3 separate regions of the Homo sapiens genome follow, and regions 1 and 2 are each linked to region 3. The links are contacts of gene promoters, found by promoter capture Hi-C in blood cells and fetal thymus (Javierre and others, 2016). All regions are on one chromosome and are shown on one strand. Each heading gives the region's core, a stretch centred on a gene start or on the middle of the fragment in contact. The rest is flanking DNA. Distances are from core to core; before and after follow the strand shown.

Region 1 (4,050 bases), core at 452-2,951, about 28 Mb before region 3:
TGCCTTTTGCCACCAGAAATCCAGTTCATCCATCATTACCCAAATTATCATTCCCATTTGTCCATACAGCCTCTAATCTCATTCAATTTCCTCCCTGACTCACTCCCATTCCTTTCACTGAGCCTTCTGTAACTGCATTCTGAGATCAGCATGGTAGTCTCAGCCTCATTTCTGAATAGTTCCTTACCTGTGTGTGCCTTAAAAATATCTATGCCCTCACGGTCACACTCTCCCTTCCAAATGGAAGCTGTTTCTTTTTTCCTCTTATACACTACCTACTTCAGGGTCATGTGGTAGATTAGACATACGTGTGACTCCCACTCCTGCTTCTAACCATTTCTCCTTCATCCCCCTTCAAATGAGGGCCAGTTTATCCACTGGGCATGGAAGACACAGAGCCCAAGGCCCATGATACTTTCAGGAGAGTAGCAAAGTATTTTTTTTCTTTTAAAATCAGAAGAAAGAAAATATATGATCTAACCTGAATTATATTTATGTTTTACTAATGTGGTTATAAAACACACTTTCTAGTATTTTTTCTATAAAGGAAGGGGTTAATATGCTCAGGATCTAGGAGTCATAATGTGTCCCAGCTTCAAACCCTTAGCTCTTTCTTTCTTGGAGAAGTAAGCCAGAAGAAAACAAAAACAAAAACAAACAACAACAACAACAACAAAATGGCTCTTTCCAAGCTCCGGCCACCAGAGTCCAATACCTCTACTTCCCTACTCACCCACCTGAGAAGCAGGATCTGCCCTTATTTATTTAGGAATGGACTCCAGGTCACTATTTTTCTCTCCATCTAGATATAATATCTGGAGTCAGCCAAATTGTATACTGAAGCATGAATGCAAGAGACCTCTAGATCAGTGTAGTTTCTCCACTGGATCGGAGAAGGTGTATGTATGTGGGTTTGGGTGGGTGCAGGAGTGAGGAGTGCGAAAAGGGTCATTGCTAGAGCTGCAACATTGAATTTCCTGTTCATTCTGGATTAACTCAGATATTGGGGAGTAATTGAATCTCCAGGTAGAATGCCTTGGCAGGCCTGAGGAAAGGGATAGGGAAAGCAGAGAGACGCATAGCAAATGAGGTTGAGGACAACACAATCATTTGAGTTTTTCAGCATTTTTTCTCTCCCTCTCTGTAGCCTTGGTCAATCTCATTTACCTAGCAGGGCTGGATGAAGGAAGAGGAGAGGAAGCAGATCAGTGTGCTCATGGCTCAATACTGCTAAGAATCTCCTTGCATTCCACCTTTGGCCTAGCAGACCACATGCCTTCTGTCTGACTGTGCCATTCCCTGAAAGAAGCGTGTGAGTTTTCAAAGTATTTCAGCACATCCTGTAGGGAAAGCAAATGCTCATCAAAATGGATGTAGAAAAAAATCCTGAATCCTTATTTCCCCTGAAGCTTCCTACATTCTTGAAGTGCAAAGTAGAGAGAAGAGCTCAGTGTTTGCGCAGAGGGTTCTTGATGCTGTAAAAGCCAGCTCAAGAGAGTGGCAGGCAGTACTCATTAGGCAGGCATAGGAGGAAGCCTTTTCTTCAAAAGGCAGGAGACAAGTTAGCAGCTGATGGGGCAGATATGTTTGTTTAGCTAGCGCTTGGTCCTGGGACTGCTCTTGGTGAAGGATGATTACCTGGGGTCAGAAAATGACCCTGCCCCAGGCATCTATCTCCCCTTCTAGGTCTCTCTCTCTCTCTCTCTGTGAAAATACCGATTTACATCAGGAAGCAGCCCAGCTTCATAATGATGTCGACTGCCTCTCTGCAGATGCAATCTCTGATTGACGGGGTGTAGGGAAGGAAGGAGAAAGACAAAAAAAGTTTATGAATTCACTCTGAGATTCAAATCACATCAATGGCCCTGCCAGCCTTCTTAAGCATAAAATTGGGCATCACAGAGATCAACATTACATGTGTTGATATTTCTCTTTCTCCACCTTTACTCTGAATCTCTGTCTAATATCCTAACAACCTACTGGACTTACAAAATCAAGCTTCATCCCCACCTGTCCGTGCCCAACCTTCTTACATAAGGTAAAACAGGAATGGAGATTCTTGCTTTTTGGTTTTTTTTCCCTAAATCATCACTCTCCTGGGACACTAGGAAAACAGAACTTATTGGCTGACACTTGAAGAAATTTCTATCCAAGTTGCTTCTATGGGATGACCCAAGGTTATTTATTTAACTATTTGTCTCAATATTTAAAAGATTAGCATATTAATAAAATAGAAACTTGCGAATACTATCACCCACATGAAGCAATTAATCAAAAGATAAACAACTTAGCATCAATACATTTGCTTTTGAGTGTCAGTATCTGTCAGGCACTGTTCTGGAAATTTTGGTAAATATATAAAAACATATGTTATATTCCATGCTGATCAATGTGGGCTGAAAAAGCAAATACATGTGTGAGATAGGAAAAAATAAAAGGCAGCATACTAAATAAAAAGTACCAGTGGTTTTGTAGTTCTGTTCATCTCTCCTATACAACATGCAAGTCCCAGGTTCAAATGATACATAAAATGGTGGGGGCCTTTTCCCTTTGATCTAAGATCATTTGTGAGGCTGAAAAAAATAATCAACAGATCAAAGAAAGATTCTAGGTCATGACAGGATTATTCAAATCAGTATTGGAAAAACCAGCATTTTAGAATGGCATCTCCTATAGAAAAAGGAAATCTGTCCAGGTGCAATGACTCACACCTGTAACCCCAGTACTTTGGGAGGCCAAGATGGCAGGATCGCTTGAGCAAAGGAGATCGAGACCAGCCTGAGCAACATATGCAGACCCCTGCCTCTACAAAAAAATTGAAAAGTTAGCTGGGCATAGTGGCACTTTCCTGTAGCCTGTAGTCCTAGCTACTTGGGAGCCTGAGGTGGGAGGATCACTTGAGTCTGGGAGGTCGAGGCTAAATGAGCCATGATTGTGCCACTAACTGCACCCCAGCCTGGGTGACAGAGGGAGACCTTATCTCGAAAAAAAGAAAGGAAAGGAAAGGAAAGGAAAGGAAAGGAAAGGAAAGGAAAGGAAAGGAAAGGAAAGAAGAAAGGAAGGAAGGAAAAAAGGAAAGAAGGAAAAAGAGAAAGAAAGAAAAGGGGGAATCCACAGCTTCTGTGCATTGCATGGAAAAATACTTCCAATACAGTAATACTAAAGTTGGCTGGGATTGTAAATACTAAAATGCATTCAACATGTATTTGTACCATACTAAATAACTATGCATCAAGAACCATTAAAGACAAAAATAGCATGCTGTATAATTTTGCCTTCAAAATATTTCTTTCTTCATATAGTTTTAAATTATTTTAGTTTAACTTATAAATAGTTAAATCCACTAAGACATCTTTTATTTTTATCAGAGGGTTATAGTGCAGACAGAAGTCAATCCCTTTGCAGAGGGCCCAAATGATAATATGTTTAATCAATAGATGTAAAAACTCCAGAATGAAACTATGAGTAGAAAAGAGGAAAAGGGAAAGCAAATAGACTATGCTGAAACTGAAACAAAGGTTGAAGAGGAAATAATTTCACTGAACCCACAAATTGTCAACTACATCCTAGACTTCTCTTCAGCTCTGTTTGGAGAAACTTGGAATATGGGACCCAAACAACTAAGAAAATTGATCTTTTCCAAAAACTTTTTATTTATTCATTTTTTAGCTACATTTTGTTGTCAACTGGATTTTTTTAAGTGCGCCTGGAACTGTTACCTATTTATTTGTTTATTTATTTATTCATTCATTCTTGAGATGGGGTCTTACTATATTGCCCAGACTGCTCTTGAACTCCTGTTCTCCAAGGATTCCCTTGCCTTGTAGCTGAGATTACAGGCACACACCACTTTGTGGGGCCAGAAAACTGATTTTATTTAGGCTACTGCAATAGGGAGAACACCTCAGGTCTGAAGACCAGAGTTTCTTGGCAGAATGGTTTCACCTTAGACTTATATAGGGAGGAATAAACAAGTTATAGATGGGGAGATTTTACAGTTGGAATCATTTTATAATCAGGAAGAGTCTCAGTCAGCATAGAGGGAAAATA
Region 2 (4,655 bases), core at 2,142-4,641, about 28 Mb before region 3:
AGTACGCTAAAATTATTTAAAACGACTTTGAAATTAAAATGTCTAAGCTATGTAGACAATAGATTTAGAAAAACACCTTATTTTGGATAAAATACCACGAGAATAGGCTTTTTAAAAAAATACTGTACAGGTGGATCACTTGAGGTCAGGAGTTCAAGACCAGCCTGGCCCACATGGTGAAACCCCCTATTAAAAATACAAAAATTGCCTGGACATGGTGGCAGGTACCTGTAATCCCAGCTACTTGGGAGGCTAAGGCAGGAGAATCGCCGGAACCCAGGAGGCAGAGGTTGCAGTGAGCTGAGATTGAGCCATTGCACTCCAGCCTGGGCAACAGAACGAGACTCCATCTCAAAAAAAAAGAATAGTCTTTAGGAGACTAAGAGAAAACATTTGCACATTTTATACATCCTGCTCTTTAGTATTCGAAAGTTGAATTTATTGGTAGTTCATCAAAACAAAAATTGCCATCCTAAAGTGAGTGGAGGTAAAAACCTTAAATAGTCCTTATTTATAAGTATTTGCTTAAAAGAGATATTCTATAAACCTTGGAAAGAAGAAATTAGATCATAAAGGGATCTCTTGCTATCCAAATTTTTGCATTCCTTAGTTCAGATAGTATTTTAGGGCCAGTATGAGATTCTAAATTATTTAAATCTGTTTGATTTCTGACTTTCTGATAGTGAGTTGTGAGAGTTCTAATAATGAGGAACTCATCCGAAATTTATTCAAGTCTATCATATCATGTCCTATTCTGTCCTACACTAAGAGATCCCATGAGGGACACTTGTACTTCCTTTAATTACACTTAAGGTAAATTCTCATTTTTAGGTGTATGTACTGCAAATTTCTAAGTTTTTTTCTTATGTGAATATTATTCTTTAGGGAAGTAGTTTACATTTTTAAGAACACTTATATTTCACATTGTCTCATAAAGGTTTTGAAAATGGCTTTAGAGAGACATATAATACAATCTAATTCAAAAATTACAAAGTTAGGATTCAGAAGTATTTTAATCAGATTCGAGTGCTAGCACAATGGTATGCGGTGATGGCGGTACCTGGTGGGGATTGGAGCATCCAGATTTAGGCTTTGCAGTCTGGTGATGTTTTGATTGTTGCCAAGTGAATGTAATCTTAAGGTTAATGAGGGTTAGCGGATGGGGTAGGGATGATTCGTGAAGAGGAGGAGAACGAAGTGGTGTCCAAAATATATACCTTTTTGGTGTCTGACTAGATTTTTCTATAACTTCTAGAATATCTAGAGCAGTTTTCAAACTTTTTGACTGAAGGATCATTTTTTCTTTTTTCTTTTTTTTTTTGAGATGGCGTCTCGCTCTGTCGCCAGGCTGGAGTGCAGTGGCATGATCTTGGCTCACTGCAGTCTTCACCCTCTGGGTTCAAGCAATCTCCTGCCTCAGCCTCCCAAGTAGCTGGGACTACAGGCGCGCACCACCATGCCCGGCTGATTTTTGTATTTTTAGTAGAGACACGGTTTCACCATGTTGGCGAAGCTCATCTTGAACTCCTGACCTCAAGTGATCTGCCTGCCTCGGCCTCCCAAAGTAGGATCATTTTTTTCAAAAGAACTCTTCTGCAGAAGCCTCGTATATAAAACATATTAAGTGCAGTTGCTTTGATTGAAAGTGGTGTTGCCTGGTATTGGATAGCAAAAGGTTTGAGACAAATGATTAGTTGGTCATTGGTGTTGTCTGGTAGTCATTAAAGGACAGAATACAGAATAATAAATTCCACAATATTATCCAAAAAGAAATTTGGATAATATCCAAAACATTATTTTGGATGTTATCGCTTATTGTTGTCTTCAACTTTAGCCAGTGTTAATTAACTTCTGTGGTTTATTCATTGGCAAAAGTTGGCACTGCTTAGTGTTTTTCTTTCTAGCCTGCCCTACCATGTGGCTAGTAATTAGATAATTTTATTTAGTTGTTTGAGCCTATTTGTAGTAGATACTGGCTTTCTTAAGCATGTGATTAAAAAAGTATTTCATAGAAGAAAAGGATTTAATAACTCCTTTTTCTTGAAATTGATAGCCATCTCTAATTTATATGGCGTATATAAATGATTTGTTGTTTAAGTTTTTGGAAATTTTGTTAAATGTTTTAGCAATACAGATGTATTTAACATAGACTAGGATATGTCCCTTAGATAATAACTTTGAATGAACAGAATAATTTTGAGTAAACAGAAATAGAATTCTATGTGTCTGCTAGGTATTAGTTTGGCATATTGTTGGCACAGTATTCTTTTGGAATTTAAAAGCCAGCTCCTCTTGAAGAGGGTTGAAATTATCAAATGAATACAGTGTGAAATTTAAAAGTATAAGAAAATTTACATAAATATATAGAGGGTTTAAAAAAAAAGAGCTGTGGTGTCATTAACTATATTATTATTAACAAACATTCCTCAGTGAAAGAATATATACAGATGTGCTTTGAAAGCATAAAGCACTAATAGCTTAATGTTATCAGTATTAATGAAATCATTTGAGGAACAGAAAATTCTCGCATAAGAAGTCACATATCTGTCTGGAGCAGTCTGGTAACTTCATGTGATAAAGGTAGTAGATTTTCTACTTTGAGTTTTTGTTTTGATTGTTTTTTTTCCTGATTTATTCTCAGAAGTGCTTTTGAGTATGAGTAATTTTGATTATTTTATCTTCATAATGTAAATTGGGTTTTGAAGAGTGGTTAAAGAAAATCATGGTTTGTTTAAAAAGTTCTAACAGGTTGAAATGTTTTCCCAGGTTTTTTTCGCCATTATATTATCTGGTGTCTTGGTGTTTTCTGAGTTTTATTAAAAAATTTAACAGAGCTGTTTTTCATGAGCTCTATTAAAACAATTATGTTTTTATTTAAAATGGAAAGTTGCCTTTAGCAAAATTGAGGTGACTGCCATATTATTTTTTAGAGTCTAACAACATTTTTGGAACCTTTTCCTCTGGCCAAAACTTTTTGTGTGGTTTGTTAATTTAAAAGAAAGATATATATATATGTATTTCTGATTTATGTTAACTTCATTTCCATAGCTGGAATGAATGGCTGAAACTACCAGTAAAATACCCTGACCTGCCCAGGAATGCCCAAGTGGCCCTCACCATATGGGATGTGTATGGTCCCGGAAAAGCAGTGCCTGTAGGAGGAACAACGGTTTCGCTCTTTGGAAAATACGGGTAAGCATTCTGTTGGTCTCATCTGTAGGAGTGTAGCAGCTTTCTGACCCTTTTCTTTTTCGGAATGAGGGAAGGCTTTAATAGTTTATGCTCAGTCTCCAGTGTAAACCAGTTAGGTACATATGATTTGATCATTCCTTACACTGATTTTAACATATATTTCCTACAGGATATACAGATAGATTAGGAAATACAATTTATATTGCTCTTCTGTTGGTGATTTAATGTGATTTCTAGTAGAAAATAGAAGTCATTGGGAAATAGAACCTTGCTTTTAGGGAAAAGTGACTATGACATATAACTGCTTTGTTACAGGGTTTATCTGCTTTTTTTATAATATTGACAGAAAGGATGAAAAACAGGATTAAAAAGCATTCATTAGCTAATGATGGTAATGATTGTGATAGAAAAGATAATTCAGTTTTTGAAACATTTGCAAATACTAGATGTTAATTGTTAAAAAAAAAATCCCATAGTCCCAAAGGATATTTTCTCTATATCGTTTTTCTCCTGGGACAGAGGACTCAGTCTGTCTTTAGAGAATTTGTGACATTCTGTTATTATTCTGCATTTACTAATAGGAATTTTTCACTAAAGAACTTGGTCCTTCATCAAGTATTTACTTAGTTCATATAGGAAAGACAGATAAATATTTTAACTTTCTTTCCCTTTACCGATTTTAAGACTAATGAGTTTGTGCCCTAGTAACTTGCAAAGGTGGTGATCGATGGCTTTTGTGCATTTTGTTTTTTATGTGTTTTAGTCCATTGCTGTCTTTACTCTTTATAATGCTCAAAAAATCTCATTTTTGGTCAGTAGGAGACCCTTCAAGTAGACCCCGTGTCCTTTTGGCAGTACACTACTAGTGATTGGTAGCTTCTTTGCTTTCTGGTAGACAAGTTTTTCCAGGCTCATTTGGTAATTTTCTGCTCCAGACCTGGAATCTCTGAAAGAAGTTCTGGTTCCTTTCAGTGTGAAATGCTATAGATCTGTCTGGATATTACAAATGTCTTAATTTTTGTCTACTTTAAAGTTAAAAAATGTTATTTAATTTTTACATCATTAAGTATGAGGAGGATTGTATTTTGGAGTGTTTATTGACTATTTGTGTTTATGTTTCCATGAACTGCTTTTTGATGTACTTTGTCCTTTTTAGAAATTGAGATATAATTCACATATCATAAAATTCTTTGCTTTTTTTTTTTTTTGAGTTGTCGTTTTCTTATTGATATATAAGGAGTCTTTGTAGATGAATGGAATTAGCCCTTTGTGGGTTATGTTACAAATACTGCTTTTCTGGTTTGGTTTGTTCTTTTGAATTAGTATGTATTTGTTTGCTCTTCATGGATTTTAAATTATTATCTTGAATCTATCAGTTTTTAGTTTTTGGGCTGTGAATTTAATGTTTTAGGAAGTTCCCATTTAAGATTCTTTAAAATGGTTTCTTCTGTTGTGCTTTTATT
Region 3 (4,536 bases), core at 134-2,633:
AAATCTCTATAACTTACAGCAATCAAAACATAAAATTATTTTTGGTATATCAGATGTTCCTTTTCTGAAAAACAAATCCTTCATGGCTCTGCCCCGAAGTAAGGCACTTCCATGAGGAGCACATACACCTATAGAGACATACATCCAACACTTGATAACATTTATGAAAGATGAGCCAACACACTGAACGCTAGAAATGCACATTATCAATCCCTACTCTTATTTTTTTAATGGGTTACTTTTTTCCACTGACACTCACCTTATGGTCCCAGCCCCAACCGGTCAACAGGATGTCAAAGTAGTTTAAGATTCCTCTACCATTGTACAGTGATTTAGTTTTGAAAGGTTAAACTTACACTTTGATATCTGACCCCGATAACTAACTACTCTTGAGGTAGGCATAAGAATACCAATCTAAAAGCATATGGGCAAGCAACTTAACATTGGTATTTATGAATCACGGTTATGTAACATTATTTTTAAAGTGCTCCCTTTCATACTGACATATCTAGTTTTTAAGATGTAAATGTCAGAAAACAAAAACAGAATACAAATATTAACCTCCAAAGATAACTCAAAAACACAGAACATACCAAAACTCAAAAGAAGTTCTGTGTTACTTCTGAGCACAGCAGAGACCATGTGGGATTCAGTATCACAAATAAAAGATGAACCATATACCCAGATTAATTAAAATTAAACATCTCTGGTTGATTAAAAAAACTTTTAACCCCAATTATTTAACTTTCAATAAACGCTACAATTAAATGACTAAGAAACAAGTCACTCGTCTGATTATTTTCTTTATTTCAAAATGACCCTACCTTAACCAATCTGCTTAACAGGTTCAGAACCTCTTCCTTCATCGGAACGGACGGGAAATTGAACCATTCCAGCAAATGAAGAAAAAGTTGCCTCTCCTGAATGAGATCAGCGTAGCAGATTAAGTTGTGCTCAATCTTGCAGAGAATACTCTTGAGAGCGCGCTCCCTGATCTCGGCCAGCTGATGACCTGTCAACGAACGGCACAAAACTATTTTATTTCCCGACTGCAAAGAGACTACGTTATTTATGCTGTGGGCAGGAGCGGCGTGAAGACGGAATAAACCAGTTTTTTTCAGAAGCAGGCCACTGGTGCCTTCGGGACGCGAACCGCGAAGTTTACACAAAGTCCGAGATGGGTCCCCGGGGGCTATCCTGACAAAGCGGGGGTGAAAGAGGGAGCGGTCGCGGAGCGGCCGGCCGCGGAAACGTGACACGACCATTCTCAGCAAGTGGCCAGAGCGCGGGGGGTGCCTTGGGCGAGGGGCAAGCTGACAGTTACCGAGTTTCCTGATGAGCCCTGCCAGGACCATCTCGTCCCGTCAATCTGCAGCCGCCGGAGAATTAAACTGCCGCGCCACTGCGTCCAGCCACAATTAATGTACCCCCGGAAACACGTCCTGTGGGACGGTGAGTTCCGCAACGCCTGCGCTCACCAGGAGTAGGAGTCATTACGTGAGCCCTTCGCGGCCCCAGCGTCGCCAGGAGAGCTTCCAGCCTCTCTAGAATCACTACTGCGCACTTCCTGGACAGCAGTCTCCGTCGCAAGAAGCGGAGGGAAAAAAAAAAGCAACAAGCAGGGATAGAACCAGCGTTGGCCGCCGCGCACGTCGGGAGTTGTAGTTCTGGCTAGGCCGTGCGTCCTGCACCGATCTCCGGGCCCGCCGCGGCGCCCGCTGGCCTGGGGTTCCGGCTTACAGCGCGGGAATTCGGGAACCCAGCGCGGGCTGCAGAGGCCCCAGCAGGAGCCCCGCCTCCCGGCTCGTCGACGGATTCGTTCTTGGCCCTGCCAATCTGATTCTCAGCTCCCAGAACTTCACGATTTAGAATGTAGACTTTTGCTTTGTGACAGTTCTCCCCATCCCCGACTACTAAATGACGAACCCTCTTTAACTGTGAAATGTACCTGCAAAGTCAAGCAGTGTCTTTGGATACCCAAGTTCAGATATGAACAAGCAAGCTACAAAAGCGGGGTGGGCGGGTATGAGTGAGCAGAAGAGAGAAACCGGGCTGCAAAAAAGGAAAATAAAGGCGGGACGTGGGGGTATGATTTGCTGAATGGTACCAAAGTTGATTTTTTGCACCGTGCACAGTGATCGAGCTGAGCAAATTATTTTTTTTTTAATTATAAGCAGCGGTAAGAACAACAACAAAATTACATTTGGAAAATGATTTGCATTTTCTCGGTCTGATCATTTCACGTTCCCTGGGAAAGGGATGTCAAGGCAGGTAAAGTGGGCCCTCGGTATCCCTAGGTAATTGGTTCCAGGACCCCCGCAGATACCCAAATCCACCCATGCTTAAGTCTCTTTTATAAAATGGTGTAGTATTTGCATATAACCTACACACATCCTCCTATATGCTTTAAATCATCTCTAGATTGCTTACAATACCTAATACACTGTAAATGCTATGTAAATAGTTGTTACACTGTACTTTTATTCATATTATTTTTTAATTGTTGTATTGTTATTTTCAACTGTGGGGTTTTTTCCCGAATATTTTCCATCCCGTGTGTTGAATTCTCTGTGTGCAACCAGTGGACAGCAAAGGCCTACTGTATTCCCATTCCTATTTTGCCAAAGAGGAAACTTAGAATCACAAAAGTACCCCCACACAAAGTCACATTAACTAGTAAGTGACAGATTGAGGAGCTGACCTGATGTTTCTTTGTTCTATTTAGAGTGCCTTGCTGCCTCCTCATGTGTGTCAATAGGAGAGTGATGATATTTGAGTTGGATCTTAAAGAGTAAGTAGGAGTTTGCCACACAAAGAAGTTGGGTAAGGAAATTCCTGCAGGAGAAACCTGTATTTGCAAAGGCAAGAATCCAGACGGAGTGTGTCAAATTCGGGAAAAGAACAAAATTCAAGGTGGCCATATTATCTCTGGGAAGAAGAGAGGAAGGGCAAGATTGCTGCTAGCATGCTGGATATTCTCCATTCCACCTTCTAGTGGTTCCTCCCAGCTCTTCCAGCTCTGCATCAACTGACCTGAACAGGCAAAAAGACTGCACTATCCAGGCTGCCTGGCCCTCTGGCTTCCAGTTGGTTGCCGCCGATAGGAGGCATCAGCAGGAAATTGGAAAGTAGGAGGAAAGAGATACGGATATTAAACCAAGATTCCACTAGCCCATGCCTAAGCCTGCCTGGCCAAGATTGTAACAGTGGCTGAATTCCTTGACCCAAAGACCACATGTCCTGATGGATAGCATACCACAGTGGGCACTGCAGAACCAGTTACACCAACTCAGAAGTGTCTGTAGTTATCCAGGAAGGAAGGTGTTAATTACGGATTTGAAGTGTCAAGGTCAAAAAACACATGACAATACAGAAAAATAATAGAAATAACTTGTCAATGATGTTTCTGAGATGAACAATCTTAGGTGATGAGAGACTGTAGATGCAGTGGGGTAAGGGGCGATAATACTGTAGAAGAAATATAAAAAATCCATTGACTTAAAACAAGCATGTTACAAGTAAAATGGGGGTCAAACTATGAAAGGGTTTTACTTATGTTGCACCCAAGGTCAACATAAACATTTTATTTTATTTTCATTGTTGAGCATATATTGCTCCTGTAATTAGACAAAAATAATTAAATCCCATTCATTACATTCAAAGCAAATAATCTATCATTCTCCTATTAGACTATTGATTCAGCAATTTTTCCTAAAAAAAAATCAACCTTTGATTTATTAATTCTACTATTTAAAAACACACATATATATTCTAGTGTATTGACTGTATTATTTTTTACCAGTTACTTCACTCTGTCGCCCAGGCTGGAGTGCAGTGGTGTGATCTCCGCTCACTGCAACCTCTGCCTCCTGGGTTCAAGTGATTTTCCTGCCTCCACCTCCCACATAGCTGGGATCATAAGCATGAGCCACTATGCCCAGCTAATTTTTGTATGTTTAGTAGAGATGGGTTTTCGCCACAATGACCAGGTTGGTCTCGAACTCCTGACCTCAAATGATCCTCCTGCCTCGGCCTCCCAAAATGCTGGAATTACAGGCGTGAGCCACCGCACCTGGGCTACATCCTTCTTTAAGTGTGTTTTGCTGTTCTTTTTTTAACTTCTTAAGCTAAAGGTCTTGTTTACATTCTTTCTTTATTAGTTATAGAGAATTTTAAGTCCATGAATTTGCATGTAAAAAAAGTTTTAATCATGTATCATGAGTTTCAATTTGTAAGGTTTTGTTCTCAGCCAATCTGAAACTGCTGTTTTGATACTTTCTGTTTCACCCAAGATCCATGTAGGAAGATGGTCTTTAATCACCAAGTCTTTCTTACATACACTTTAGTTATTAATTTCGACTTTTATTATATCAGAGTCAGCAACAATTACAAAAGGTCAGGGCCTTTTGTAATTTGAATGTTAAAGTCAAAGATTTTAGGTGAACTTGAAAAAAATGGGCAATAGATGTCTGCGTGGATGTATAGAAAACTACATAATTTTCTTCTTGTATTTACAGTGGTTTTTGTTGTATTTAT

The links. The method cuts DNA at HindIII sites, captures the fragments that hold promoters and counts their contacts. A CHiCAGO score of 5 or more calls a contact.
Region 1: a contact is called between a fragment that was not itself captured here and the fragment with the promoter of RTTN in region 3, in 1 of 17 cell types (total B cells). The highest score is 6.9, in total B cells.
Region 2: a contact is called between a fragment that was not itself captured here and the fragment with the promoter of RTTN in region 3, in 1 of 17 cell types (total B cells). The highest score is 11.6, in total B cells.

The regions. Positions count from the first base shown.
Region 1 is chr18:41,939,420-41,943,469 of GRCh38, forward strand. No RefSeq gene overlaps it. Among named protein-coding and RNA genes, the nearest start is that of PIK3C3, 14 kb to the right of the region's middle. The HindIII fragment of the contact is 589 bases long and covers 1,408-1,996 here.
Region 2 is chr18:41,959,441-41,964,095 of GRCh38, forward strand. It overlaps PIK3C3 (phosphatidylinositol 3-kinase catalytic subunit type 3), which reads left to right. Exons shown (of 25, transcript NM_002647.4): 3 at 3,049-3,192. Among named protein-coding and RNA genes, the nearest start is that of PIK3C3, 6.5 kb to the left of the region's middle. The HindIII fragment of the contact is 7,419 bases long and covers 1-4,655 here.
Region 3 is chr18:70,204,304-70,208,839 of GRCh38, forward strand. It overlaps RTTN (rotatin), which reads right to left and starts at 1,384. Exons shown (of 49, transcript NM_173630.4): 1 at 1,325-1,384; 2 at 825-1,012. The coding sequence starts at 1,355. It overlaps LOC105372180 (a long non-coding RNA gene), which reads left to right and starts at 1,486. Exons shown (of 3, transcript XR_935599.3): 1 at 1,486-2,271; 2 at 2,726-2,791. RefSeq lists enhancers at 1,084-1,213, 1,424-1,533, 1,452-2,081, 1,544-1,783. The HindIII fragment of the contact is 5,232 bases long and covers 1-4,536 here.